Linked DNA regions of Homo sapiens: region 1 is linked to region 2. Evidence: promoter capture Hi-C in 16 types of primary human blood cells and fetal thymus (Javierre and others, 2016). All regions are on one chromosome and are shown on one strand. The core of a region is centred on a gene start or on the middle of the fragment in contact, and the rest is flanking DNA. Distances in the headings are between cores, read along the strand shown. Region 1 holds the start of CEP76 (centrosomal protein 76). Region 2 holds the start of CHMP1B (charged multivesicular body protein 1B).

What was found. The method cuts DNA at HindIII sites, captures the fragments that hold promoters and counts their contacts. A CHiCAGO score of 5 or more calls a contact.
Region 1: a contact is called between a fragment that was not itself captured here and the fragment with the promoter of CHMP1B in region 2, in 1 of 17 cell types (naive CD8 T cells). The highest score is 5.2, in naive CD8 T cells.

Annotation. Positions count from the first base shown.
Region 1 is chr18:12,697,326-12,704,007 of GRCh38, reverse strand. It overlaps CEP76 (centrosomal protein 76), which reads left to right and starts at 1,285. Exons shown (of 12, transcript NM_024899.4): 1 at 1,285-1,522; 2 at 2,895-3,050; 3 at 4,103-4,178; 4 at 4,805-5,029; 5 at 6,600-6,682. The coding sequence starts at 1,460. PSMG2 (proteasome assembly chaperone 2) reads right to left here and starts at 966. Exons shown (of 7, transcript NM_020232.5): 1 at 844-966. The coding sequence starts at 900. RefSeq lists enhancers at 1,598-1,647, 1,658-1,957, 1,243-2,140. The HindIII fragment of the contact is 2,094 bases long and covers 2,767-4,860 here.
Region 2 is chr18:11,848,883-11,855,301 of GRCh38, reverse strand. CHMP1B (charged multivesicular body protein 1B) reads right to left here and starts at 3,889. Exons shown (of 1, transcript NM_020412.5): 1 at 858-3,889. The coding sequence starts at 3,790. The coding sequence ends at 3,191. The region is part of intron 5 of GNAL (G protein subunit alpha L); the gene reads right to left. RefSeq lists a silencer at 3,178-3,472 and enhancers at 3,479-3,528, 3,797-4,036. The HindIII fragment of the contact is 8,099 bases long and covers 2,014-6,419 here.

The DNA.
Region 1 (6,682 bases), core at 2,564-5,063, 850 kb before region 2:
CTCCAAACAGTGCATTTTCCAATGGTGCCTTCTGGGTTCACAGGGCCTACAGCCTATTCTCTCTCAATGTGTCATTCCAAATTCTTGGCAGTCTTCAAGTCCCCCTGCTTACTGACTCTGTTTTAGACATCCATCTTTCTGAAACGCCTACTTTCCCCTACTCCCAGCCCACGGGCCCTCCATCTTTTGCATACTACTTTCTCTATAAAGCCTTTCTTAACAAGCCATCTGTCCCTCCCCTCCCAATTATCTCAGGACCTTTCTATACCCTTTCAAGCTTCTAGCCTAGCATTTATTGCTCTTAGATTACATGTTTCCAACTACAGTGTAAATTCTTTGAGGGCACGCACCTAGTCTTATTCTAATACTCGCACATAACAGACTTTATTAAAACAATGAATGAATATAAAGAGCGATAAAACTGCGCTAACTACCGGCAAGAGTTAATGTTTATTGCCCTATCAGTAGTTCTCCGGTTAACAACGATAATATGCTAGCTTAAGACTAATTCTAAAACTAGTCGTAGAAAGACTTTCTAGGATAAAACTGAAGGATGCCCTGCAAAACATAAGTACAGTGTATCTAGAACGTACGAACACATCACGTTTTACAGGAAACAGAGACTACAAATTGTAGACTTGACTACGTTTGGTTTTACAGCCGACAAAGGTTCTGTTTGGACGGCTGCCTCCGGCTACAACCTCCCTGTTTTTTCCGGCCGAAAACATGAAATAGAAACTAGTGCCCTATTTCTCCCAAGGCACCGCCAAACACCCCGCGTCGGGGTGGCGACACCGCAGGGGCCTCGGGAGGCGGCAGCCCCGAGCGCAAATGGAGACTCACCATTAGGAGGGTGAAGCCGGCAAGGTCGGGGGCCGACTCCCCGCAGGGAACGAACATGGTCGCAGTGGGGTGGCCAGCAGGGACTAACCGCGGCCCTGGCAAGAACGAGGGCAGCAAGAAGGCGGAAGCCCGAGACCCCGGAGCCTCGCGGGGCGCGGGAGGGTCCTTTGAGTCCCTGGGCGCCGGGCCCTTGAGGCCCGTCCAGCTAACTGCCGGTTCAGAGGGCGGAAAGAGGCCGCCGGGTGGCCGCGAAGAGGGGCCAGCAGCGCTTTCGGAGACCCTGGCAAGCAAGGCGATGGGGTGCGCTGAGGTCTCGGGGTGCGGGGCCCGCGGGGAGGTGGAGCGGCGGGCGGAAACGATCAGGCAGCGTGCGGGCCAGCCCCAAGCCCTGTTTGTCCGCCACTGTTTGAAAACAGTTGGCGCCGCCGCCGCCGGGGCCTCATTTCCAGGTCAGCCCCCGGCCTGACGCGGCGTTGCGTCCCCCGGGAGCTGCGCTAGGCGAACGGCTGCGGCGCTTTGTGCTCCAGTCGCTCCTAACGCTCCCTGGCCCGGCCGGGGCCGCGCAGTTAGGGCATCTGAGGCGGGGAGAAGCGGCGGGGAGACGCCGGCTGCCAGCATGTCGCTGCCTCCGGAGAAAGCCTCCGAGCTGAAGCAGCTCATCCACCAGCAGCTGAGCAAGGTGAGAGTCGCGGGTGCTGGGAGAGACCGCCGGGCCGACCCATAACCTTTCCCTCCTGCCCGGCGGCCCCGGGCCGACAGCGGCATCTGCTTGCCGGGACTGTAGCGAGGATTGTGGGGTGCGCAACGCAGAGTAGGCAGAGCTTTGAGTTTGAGGCAGGAGAGCGTCCTCGTCTCCGAGAAAGAAAACGAGCCGAGCAGGTGCTAGCAAGAGTCTGGGGCGATAGAACGAGCGGTCTTGGCGTTTTAGGACGGCCGTGAGAATGAAGCGCTTAGCGAGCGACTTCTGGAAGTCGGATCGAGTGTAAGTTGTATTTGGAGGTTTATATTCTGCTGTAAGATATCAGGTTTTTTTTCTTTCTTGAGACGGAGTCTCTCTGTTGCCCAGGCTGGAGTGCAGTGGCACGATCTCGGCTCACTGCAACCTCCGCCTCCCAGGTTTAAGCGATTCTCCGCCTCAGCCTCCCGAGTAGCTGGGATTACAGGCGCGCGCCACCACGCTCGGCTAATTTTTGTATTTTTAGTAGAGACGGTTTCACCATGTTGGTGTGGCTGGTCCCGAACTCCTGACTTCGTGATCCGGCCGCCTCGGCCTCCTAAAGTGCTGGGATTACAGGCGTGAGCCTCCGCGCCCGGCAGATATCAGGGTTTCTTTACCGCTGAAACATGTGGGTATCAGCGAAGTTGAACCAGGAGCTTCAATCAGCAATTCTCAAATAAGTCATGGAAGAGAAGTTACTAAAGGGTTTGTAATGACGGAATTTGTTAATATTTCGGAGCTCCAGAAGAACCTCCAGTTTCTGCAGCGCTCGCTCGACTGAGTGCAAGATGCTGAAGTGATAAAAGCGACCATTTATGGTGCCCTTGTGTGCCAGGCTTTGTGCTGTCTAGTATCTTTAATCCTCACAACACTATCGTGAGAGGGCACTACACTAGGTTTTTCCATTCTTATCGGTGACGAAACAGATTTATAAAGGGTAAATAAGTTGGCTTGAGGTTACACATCTACTAAGTTGAAAGCTGGTAAGATTCCCTTATCATTAGGCAGATCAAAGTATGAAAGTAATAAGATCATACTTTGATCTGCCTACTCCCAGTCCGTGTTCTTCTGATTATACTATACTCCCTCTCAGAAGATTCCTTTTGGTTGAGTGTTGTTTGTGGAGAAATGGTAACAAAGGTGCCAGATAACCAGTGGAGACTATTTCTAGAATTTGTACTCAAAAGATTCATTCTTTAAAAGCTTACCTTTGTTCCCATTCAATTGTGGTAACAATTGTGCATTTACTGTTAGCTGGAGAACCTTAAAACTTCAGAAGCAGTATTTGACTGCTTTGTGATGTTATAAATTGTAATATGAGTTTTCTACATAGATGGATGTCCATGGTAGAATAAGAGAAATCCTTGCTGAGACTATACGGGAAGAATTGGCACCTGATCAACAGCATTTATCAACAGAAGATTTGATCAAAGCCCTTAGACGTCGAGGAATCATTGACGATGTGATGAAAGAACTTAATTTTGTTACTGTGAGTAATCTTTTAGGGAAATAAATGAGAGTATATATGTATATACTAATGCGTAACACTACTTATAAGGTTCCGATGTGGGGCCTTTCGTTTTAGTAAAACCACTTCAAGGTCATTCTGTTTACTAGTGTCCTTGTTTCAAGTATAGGCTAGCTCTGCCCTTGAATATACTGAATAGTTTTGTGTATCAATGAAATTTGTGTTAGATATCTTATTCCTGTCTCTACAGTGACAGAATTTTCTCTTATTTTCTAGGTCTGTAAATTTGAATATACATACTTTAGTCCAATTAGTTCACCATAACAAAGTTCTTTTTCATTATGATCTGTAACTTTTTTAGATTAAGCGTATTTTTAAAATAAGCACTCTTTTGGGATTATATTCTCTATGATTAACAAATTACAAATTTCTTTAAGAAAATAATTGACTGCATAAGAGTCCTCAAATCTTTTAATACAAATAGGTCAATAATGGGATGATAGTCTCTCAGTGCACAATTAGTAAGTAGGCCTTCATTTGAAAGTGAGGCAATAATGGAAACTGTGACCTCAATACCTGGGTAATATAATGTGAAAATTGGATGGACTTCATAATACAATAGGGAATAAGTATTTTAATACAGCACCTTTTTTTGGTTTTTGAAGTTTATGAACCCGTTTGTTATAAAAATTGACCTAATAACAGCTTCTACTCTGTGATGACACTTTATTAAAATCAGCTCATAGTGGAATTATAAGCCAACTGTTACATAAGGTTTACAGAAAGTTTAACCTTGTTGAAGGTATTAAGGATTTGTTTTTAGCTTTATGTGGATAGTATTACTTGAAGACAGTTTAATTCCTTAGCATTTGATTTTAGGAGTGATCAGTTTACATCATCTTTTATGCAGGCTTTTATTTTCATTATTTTAATTAGGCTAGGAAAATAAGGGGTTCTTTGAAAGGGCCTTACCCTGTTGACTTTAGGTTCAGTGCTTAGTCATGTTTATTGACATTTCCTTAACCTATAATTGTTTTCTAATTTGTTTTGATTTTTTTTTCCTGCCTTTCTAGGACAGTGTTGAGCAAGAACTCCCTTCCTCTCCAAAACAACCTATTTGTTTTGATAGACAATCGACATTAAAAAAAAGTATGTATATTTTAACATTAATTTAGTTGTGGTTAATAGTAAATATTGATGTGGTGTAGTCTTTCGTATTTGATAGAAGACATTTCCATTTTTTCCCCCCAAAATAAAATACTTAAAATTTTATGGTTGGCTAAAACAGATTGTTTTGCATGAAGTATATCAGAAGAGTTAATGTATAGCACGGTAGAAGCAAAAACAGCATCACCAGTTTCTTGTGTTTTAATAATATGTTTTATAAAAACTGTACAGCCTTGCTTTTAAATATTAATATAATTGACAAATACACTTGCTGAATTGATAATTATATGAGTTGGTTTGTGAAGGTGGAGGAATGTTGGATAAGCAGTTAAAAAGCAAAAGTATACTACATATTGGCTCTGATGCCTTTTCCAGCTGGGAGAAAGTAGCCTGGATGTAAACTCAGAAAAGAATATCATATTTTGTGTATCTTCTCCCCAGAGTGCAAATGATTCTGGCATATACAGTAATAAATTTGTTACTCTTTTGCTTTTTTTTTAGTCTTTGGTATTGGGTTTTTATCTGTCAAGTTTTTATTTCCTAATGTCTTGATCACATTCTTTTAAGTTATTTGGCAGTTTCCTCATATATATTGCTACACTTTACAGCTAATATTGATCCAACACGGAGGTATCTTTACCTTCAGGTTTTGGGTGGAAAAGCTTTCTTGGAACATCTGCAAGAACCTGAGCCTTTACCTGGACAAGTTTGTTCAACGTTTACTTTATGTTTACATTATCGAAACCAACGTTTTCGTTCTAAACCTGTTCCATGTGCCTGTGAACCAGATTTTCATGATGGCTTTTTACTTGAAGTACACAGAGAAAGCTTGGGTAAGAAACAGTAATAAATTGTCATTTAATTGAGTAAATCTTTGTTATGTTTTATTGTGAAACAATAATAATGACTTTTTCTGTAAGGAGAGATTTATAATGGAGGAATCTCTATTTTGTTTCCCACTGCTCTTTTCAATTTAAACTACTATCCACCTTCTTGCAATATTCTGTTTGCTATTCATTTTCCCTGGATATTATTTTTTGACTGTTTTCATTGTTGATTCTTTAGTAATACACACTTAAATACCTATTATGTGCATAGTGTTATGCTAGGCAGGTGCTGGGATGATATAGTGGAAAATGAGACATGGTCCTTCTCATTTATAAAATATAACCAGATTGATGATGTTATGTAACTTTTAAAAGTCGAAGTTTAGGCTGAGCACGGTGACTCACAGCTGAAATCCCAACACTTTGGGAGGTCTAGGTGAGAGAATCATTTGAAGCCAGGAGTTCAAGACAAGTCTGGGCAAAGTGAGACATTGTCTCTACAAAAAATAAAAAATAGGCTGGGTGTGGTGGCTCATGCCTGTAATCCCAGCACTTTGGGAGGCCAAGGCAGGTGGGTCACCTGAGGTCAGGAGTTTGAGACCAGCCTAGCCAACATGTCGAAACCCTGTCTCTACTAGAAATACAAAATTTCTAGCCGGGCATGGTGGCAGGCGCGTGTAATGAGCCGAGATCACCCCATTGCACTCCAGCCTGGGCAACAGAGTGAGACTCTGTTTAAATAAATAAATAAATGAATAAATATTTATAAATTATTTATAAAAACTTCTAATAAATTTTTATAAATACTTACAAATAAATATAAATAAAATAAAAAGTCAAATTTAGATGTGAACATATAACTGTCATTTTAATTTTTTCTTTTTTTTCTTATTTCTCCAATAAAGCATGTAATTCTCATAACTAAATTTTATGCTACTTGATTCCTGTAATTGTTTTACACTATGTTTCTTTCAGTAAAGGTATTTTGTATTTTGTAATTGTCAGTATGGAAATCTTTATATTTGTAAACTAAGCAAAGTTTCAGAATGTCTTCACAATTTTAGATTTAAAGATGACTGAAACATTACTAAAATTTATTTTTTTCCCTTTGAAAGATGTTACCTTAATAAGGCAATTAATAGGATAAATTGCTAGATTCGATGTGCTGTATTTTTCAGTTGTATGTCAATTATACAGTGATAATTTCTGGAGGTTAAAGGGATTTCTTGAGGTAGTTTGGGGATTAATATTGACATACTTGAAGGCTTTTTATTGTAGTAGCATATACTTTAGTTAAGTACTTTTAAAGAACAGACTTATCTTATGAATCAGAAAGCACTGATATGCTGTAAGTTACTGGATAACTCATCACAATTTGCCAGTCTTCTGAAAAGTTAGTGATAGAAATAGGACTGTACTTGTATTTCCAGTTTTTTGCATGCTTTCTGAGACATTAGCAAATTGTTCTCTTTGGTTTTATATAAGCTTATTATTTACTGTTTAATAAAAGTATTCTTTTATGTTGGCCTAACTGAATATGTAGTGTGGTATAATTTCGTTTGGATTATATTGCTAGGTGATGGAACTAGAATGGCTGATTCAACAACAATGTTATCAATAAGTGATCCAATTCATATGGTGCTAATCAAAACAGACATA
Region 2 (6,419 bases), core at 2,640-5,139:
AGTTTCAATGTGAAAAAAAATCTTGTAGTTATGAAGAAACAATTACAGTGAAGAAGCCAGGGGACCGGGCGCGGTGGCTCACGCCTGTAATCCCAGCACTTTGGGAGGCCGAGGCAGGCGGATCACTTGAGGGTCAGGAGTCCGAGACAAGCCTGGCCAACATGGTGAAACCCCGACTCTACTAAAACAACAACAACAACAACAAAAACAAAAATTAGCCAGGTGTGTTGGTGCGCATCTGTAGTCCCAGCTACTCAGGGGGCTGAGGCAGGAGGATCGCTAGAACCTGGGAGGTGGAGGCAGCAGTGAGCCGAGATCGTGGTGGCACTTCAGCCTGGGCGACAGTGAGACTCCGTCTCAAAACAGCAACAACAAAAATAAGCCAGGGATCCTAGAAATATGCAAGAAAAAGCCATACTAACCAAACAAAAATTTAAGTGCTAAGACTGAGGGTGAATTTGGAAAAATATCATGCTTTCTGACCCAAATCTACCTCAGAATTTTTTTTTTTCCTTTTTTTGAGACTGAGTTTCATCCTTGTTGCGCAGGCTAGAGTGCAATGGCGCAATCTTGGCTCACCTCAACCTCCGCCTCCCAGGTTCAAGCAATTCTCCTGCCTCAGCCTCCTGAGTAGCTGAGATTACAGGTGTGCAGCACCACGCCCAGCTAATTTCATATTTTTAGTAGAGGCGGGGTTTCTCCATGTTGGTCAGGCTAGTCTCAAACTCCTGACCTCAGGTGATCTGCCCACCTCAGCCTCCCAAAGTGCTGGGATTACAGGCGTGAGCCACTGTGCCCCGCAATTCTTTTTTCTTAAGTGTTTTTTAAAACAGGATGCACACTCACATCCAATAACATGCAGTTTAAAATGATTTAATTGACAAATTCTTGTGATTTACATTTCAGTAATCAACTGCAAAAGTGAGGAAGTAATTCATGGGCCTGTAGTGCTTTTGAAAATAATATTTATGACTCATAAAAATGTACATTCATAATAGTATGACATGGACATATTTTAAGAAAGTTCAAGCATATACAAGCATTGTTTAATCTCACAAAATATATTAATTTTGTTGGGAATATGTGCATTATAAAAGGGTCTTTAGTTTACCAAAGGGTTCAACACTAAGCTATTTTTAAAGTTGTAATTATTTTTTCCAATCTAAAGAGGGGTTAAGGCCAGGTGCAGTGGCTCATGCCTGTAATCCCAGCACTTTGGGAGGCTGAGGTGGGCGGATCACCTGAGGTCAGGAGTTCAAGACCAGCCTGGCCAACATAGTGAAACCCTGTCTCTACTAAAAATACAAAAAAACTAGCTGGGCATGGTGGTGCACACCTGTAATTCCAGCTACTCGGCAGGCTGAGGCAGGAGAATCACTTGAACCCGGGAGGTGGAGGTTGCAGTGAGCAGAGATCGCGCCACAGCACTCCAGCCTGGGCAACAGAGCGAGACTCTGTCTCAAAAATAAAATAAAAGAGGGGTTAAGACTCATGCTGTCTTCACACATGGCCCTGCACAACCATGTGGAGGACAGGAGGGATATTCTTGAGAGATGCTGGGCAGACAACTAACAAGTGTCCCTTAAAGCACACTTCTGAACAATGTCCAGTCAAATATAAAATAACTTAAATATGAGGGTCACTCCTCATCTGCACGCACCTGTTACACTTTTTTTTTCCTTACTCATTTACACTGGGAAACATGTTATAATAGTGAATAGTTGGTTATGAATCTTTCAAAGAACTTGGAAGGGCCCCTATAATTATTTTCTGAAACAATGGAATTCTCTTATGGAAAAATCTTCCAGTGAAGGAAAGGGTAAGTTAAAAAAAACTTGAATTAACTTAGGTTAGCATGCTTGCCAAGGCAAAAGCAAGTTGCTTTTCTCCATGTTTCGAGGCTATGAGAAAGCGGTGGATACATGCTTTACTTTTCAGCCAGAAAATACGCACTGCCATTCCTGAGAAGATGGCAGGCAGCACAGCTGGGCTCTAGCCTTAAAGACTCAAGCTTTCTCCTTCCTTCCAGTCCTACCTCTTTACTTCTCAGATTTCCAGCTGGCTGGATGTATACATAAATGACTTGCATGGCTAAGTAAAACATTCCAGCTTATATTTTCAAGGATTTCCAAGAGTTCTTGCTTTTGGACAAATTAATAAATGCAAATTAGAACTTAAAACGCAGTTCTAATTTTATTTCTATTTTTGGTTGTTAAAATCAAAACAAAACCTACACACACACAGTCCTAGGGTTTTCTCAAACGAAATCAACAGTTCTTTGGCAATGTTAAGAGTGTGTAACATGACTGCCATGCTAATTAGCATAATTTATAAGACTTCTAATAGTGTTGAAACAGGAAAATAACTATAAACTTGTTAGAGAAGTTCGTTTGAAAGACACTGTCAAATGTCACACTAAGTCTTTTTAAAAACTCAATTTAGTAAGTAGAAAATATAAATGAACAAATTTAATTTTTCCAGATAATAAAGGAAGTTATTCGGCATTTTTCCCAGTTACGCAAAGACAATTATCACGTGAAAAATTTATAGAATGTAAGCAGTAAGAGAGTATTATGCAAAAATATCCTAAGGTAATTTCAGTATAAATTATAGGACCACATTTATTAATAATATACGTTATGAGAACAATCATTTGCAGTCTCACTGTGAAGGCAAAAAAAAAAAAAACAAAAACCAAAACCCAAAGGATAAACAGAAATAGCACAGTCCACCGAATACACTGCATGGTGTTTATAACTGTATAACCAAACTAAGTAATCTTTCCCCTCTCTTTAACTTTTATGCACCACCTGCCATTCTAGATACTATCAATCACACTAAATAATAATAAAAACCAACCACCTTCAATCTGATCATTCTGGGCAGGAAACTGAATACAGTTTTGACCAGATCTTCGAGAAAGATTCATATACACGAAATTAACTAGTTCTGTTAAAAGGCTGCTATAAAAATACCATCATTACGAGCTATACAGAACTTTAGAATCCAGCTAAGAGTGCAGAAATACTGAATTTCTTAATTTATGTGGAGGGGGCTGTAAACCCAAAGGTAGAAGGGCATTTCAGCATTCTGGCGTGTTCAGAGTTTCTAGGGTATAGTATCTCTCTAACACACAGAGAGCATTTCAAAGGGTGGCTATGGCCAGGAAACCTCAGAGCGGGTTCTGCCGTCACACTTGATCCCGAAGGCGGGCCAGTCTCTGAGACAGTTCATCCTGCTCCGCCGAAGCCACGCTCGTGCCCACGGAGCCGGTCTGGCCCTGCGGCAGCTCCATGTTGAGGTCGAGGCCCGCCTCATCTGCCATTTCCTGGAGCAGCATATCCACTTGGTTCTGGGGAGTGGTGAGCGTCGTCGTGCTGCTCATCGTGTCTTCCATTTGCTGCGTCTGGACGTCCAGAGTCTCAAACTGGTGCTCGAATTTGTCCATCAAAGCAGAAATCTTCTCCAGATTCATGGTCTTCAATGTCGCATCCATCGACTTAACCACACCAGCCATCGACTTGGTCACCTTGCCCATCGTCACCGCCGTCTGGACCCTGGCAGCCACTGCATCGACTCGCGCACTCATTCTCAAGAAATTCACCGCCTGGTTCTTCTGGCGGATGGCATTTTCGGCGTGTATCCTCGCAACTTCCATGTTGCCCTTCTGAATGGCCTTTTTAATTTTGGCCTTTTCGGCCTTTTCCTCCTTATCGCATTTTTTGGCACTCCTACTCAGTTCTTTGGCCGCGAACTTCAGGTTGAACAGGTGTTTCTCCATGTTAGACATAGTCGGACGGCTCCTTTGGGTCGGCGGCCCGGCTGAGAAGCGCGCCGAAGGCAGAGAAGGTAAGGTAAGTCCGCTCCCGGCCGCCGCTCCTTTGTTTTGGTCCCACTTCCTGTTTCTACTGTGAGCGGCGCAGGTGGTGACGTCAGAGCCCAGCGCCAAAGGCGGAGCCTGCGGGACGGAAGGCGCCGGGGTGGGGCCTGTGGGACGTAAGACGCCAGGGGCTGCGCATGCAGGGGGATTCTGGCTGGACGCTCCGGCGCTGCGGCGGGGAACGCTCGCTTCCTGCGCTGCGTTCTACCCGGTTTTTAAAATTCTAACGCATTAGTCAATTCACAAAAATTAGTGCCCCCACGCACTTTCCTAGTAATAAATCTACCGAAGTAGACAGGATCTGTGGAGACCCGCGTGTAAAATTACCCACGCTCCAAACTTGGCAGGCTTTATAAAGGGTGACTGGCTAGCGGGCTAAAAACCAGCCAAACATCAGCTAGGTCTTCGCACTAACGCTTGCTTTATTAGCATGGGTAATTTCCACTTTCTCAGGGGAACTGGAAACCATGGATACATTAAAAACAAAAACATTAAAACACATTAAAAACAAACGGGTCATTGACGCGTCTCCATCTTTGACTACAATTTGTGCTAGAGTTCTGTAATATCCTTTTATTGCATTGAGTGAAAATAATCTTCAAAACTGTGGCACCACCAAATTTATACTTTGTCTGGAAGTTCAGCTTCTAGGTGAGTTGCCAGCAATTATCCAAAAATCGTCCCGTGGTTTAGTAATAAAAAGACCCATCTTTTGCTGACACCATTCTGTCTTTTTGATGTTTTATAAATATCCAAGGAACTTCACTCACATTTAAGTTTGACAGGCTAAACTGTCATTTTAAATTATGCAGGCAGAGTATGTTGAGATATCAGGACCCACACCCACGGGCATACATCAAAACTGTCACTATGTATTACGCCCTTTAAAAATGCTGGCTTTCAAATGGCAGCAATGTGTGCTGTCACTTTTCTCTTTAGAAAGATTCCTCCGATACAGCAATAACAATGTGAGAAGACCAAATCTGCCCTAATGAGGTAGGCTGAAAATGAACTCTGAGAGCGAATTCTGTTTAGAGATCATTTTAATCTAGCAGCCTGCCACCTCGCTTAGCTTCCTGTGATAGCTTGCCAGTCAGTTTCACAACACAAGACCTTCTGAAGACATAGCTCTGATGTTTTCACTCTCTTGCTCCAAACCCCGGGCATGGAGGCTAAACCTGCTGTGCAGCATGCTGGCTCGTCTTTCGCGCCCCTCCACCTCCGCCAGTCAAAGCAAACCGCAGCATGGAATTTGAGCATTATTTGCGTCATTCGGCCAGCGGGGAGAATGTGACTGACGCCCGGTCCTGTGGCTATGCTGTTCCTGTTGCCTGGATTTTAGTGTCCATGCATCTCTGCCTATTGACACCCTGCCAGTCCTTCAAAAGCCACCTTCACCATGGAGCCTCCCCAGGACTCCTCCTCTGTGTGGCCATACTACAGGGCACATTGCCTGGCAAGGGGTCTGTGTGTATAGGTCACCTGTTACAGTGTGAACTACTTGGATGCAGACACTGATTCCTTCCCCTCTCCATGGAGCCCAGCAGGCGCTCTGCACACAGCAGCCACTGAATCCAGATGGCGTTGCTGAATTTAATTGTATTTCAGAGGGGATAGGATGTTACCCTAGTTAGCAGCTTAGCTATGGTTCCTTTTTGCCCCGCAAAGCAGTAGAACCCTTTTTCCAAATGAAACTTTTCTAGAAATGGAATATAAACAACCAAAAAAAAGGGGAAGAAATCTGTTCAAAGTGGATATAGAGAGCTTAGGCCCCCTACTCTGCTCACCCTCCATTCCACTCTTCCCTTCTTTTAGGTCCTGGTTTTTCTTGGAGTTTGCAAACAAGTTTCTTATCCAGCTTCCATGTCATGCTCCATAGTTTTCTTTTTTCTTTTCTTTCTTTTTTTTTTTTTTTTTTTTGAGATGAAATCTTGCTTTGTCACTCAGGCTGGAGTGCAGTAGTGTGATCTTGGCTCACTGCAGCCTCCCCCTTCTGGGTTCACGCGATTCTCCTGCCTCAGTCTCCCGAGTAGCTGAGATTACAGGCACACGCCAGCACTACCGGCTAATTTTTGTATTTTCAGTACAGCTGGGGTTTCGCCATGTTGGTCAGGCTGGCCTCGAACTCCTGACCTCAGTTGATCTGCCCACCTTGGCATTCCAAAGTGCTGGGATTATAGGCGTGGGCCACCGTGCCCAGCCCATAGTTTTCTTAATGACAAATTCTGACTAGGTGAGATGGTTTGGAATATAATCATGAGAGACTCCGATAGATGATGATGATAATGACAACTAACATTAATAAAGTACTTATGCACCAGACATTGTTCTGGGCACTTTACATAAATTAACTCATTTCAGCTTCGCAAACCCTATGAAGTAGATACTATAAATGTCTCCAGTTCACAGGTAATGAAAAGGAAGCACAGAGAGCTAAGAAACTTGCCTGAACCCACACATTAGGTAAGTGTTAGAAACCGGATTCCATGGATGTATTGGGACCAGTAATAAGGCAATGGGGAATCCAATGAACATGAAT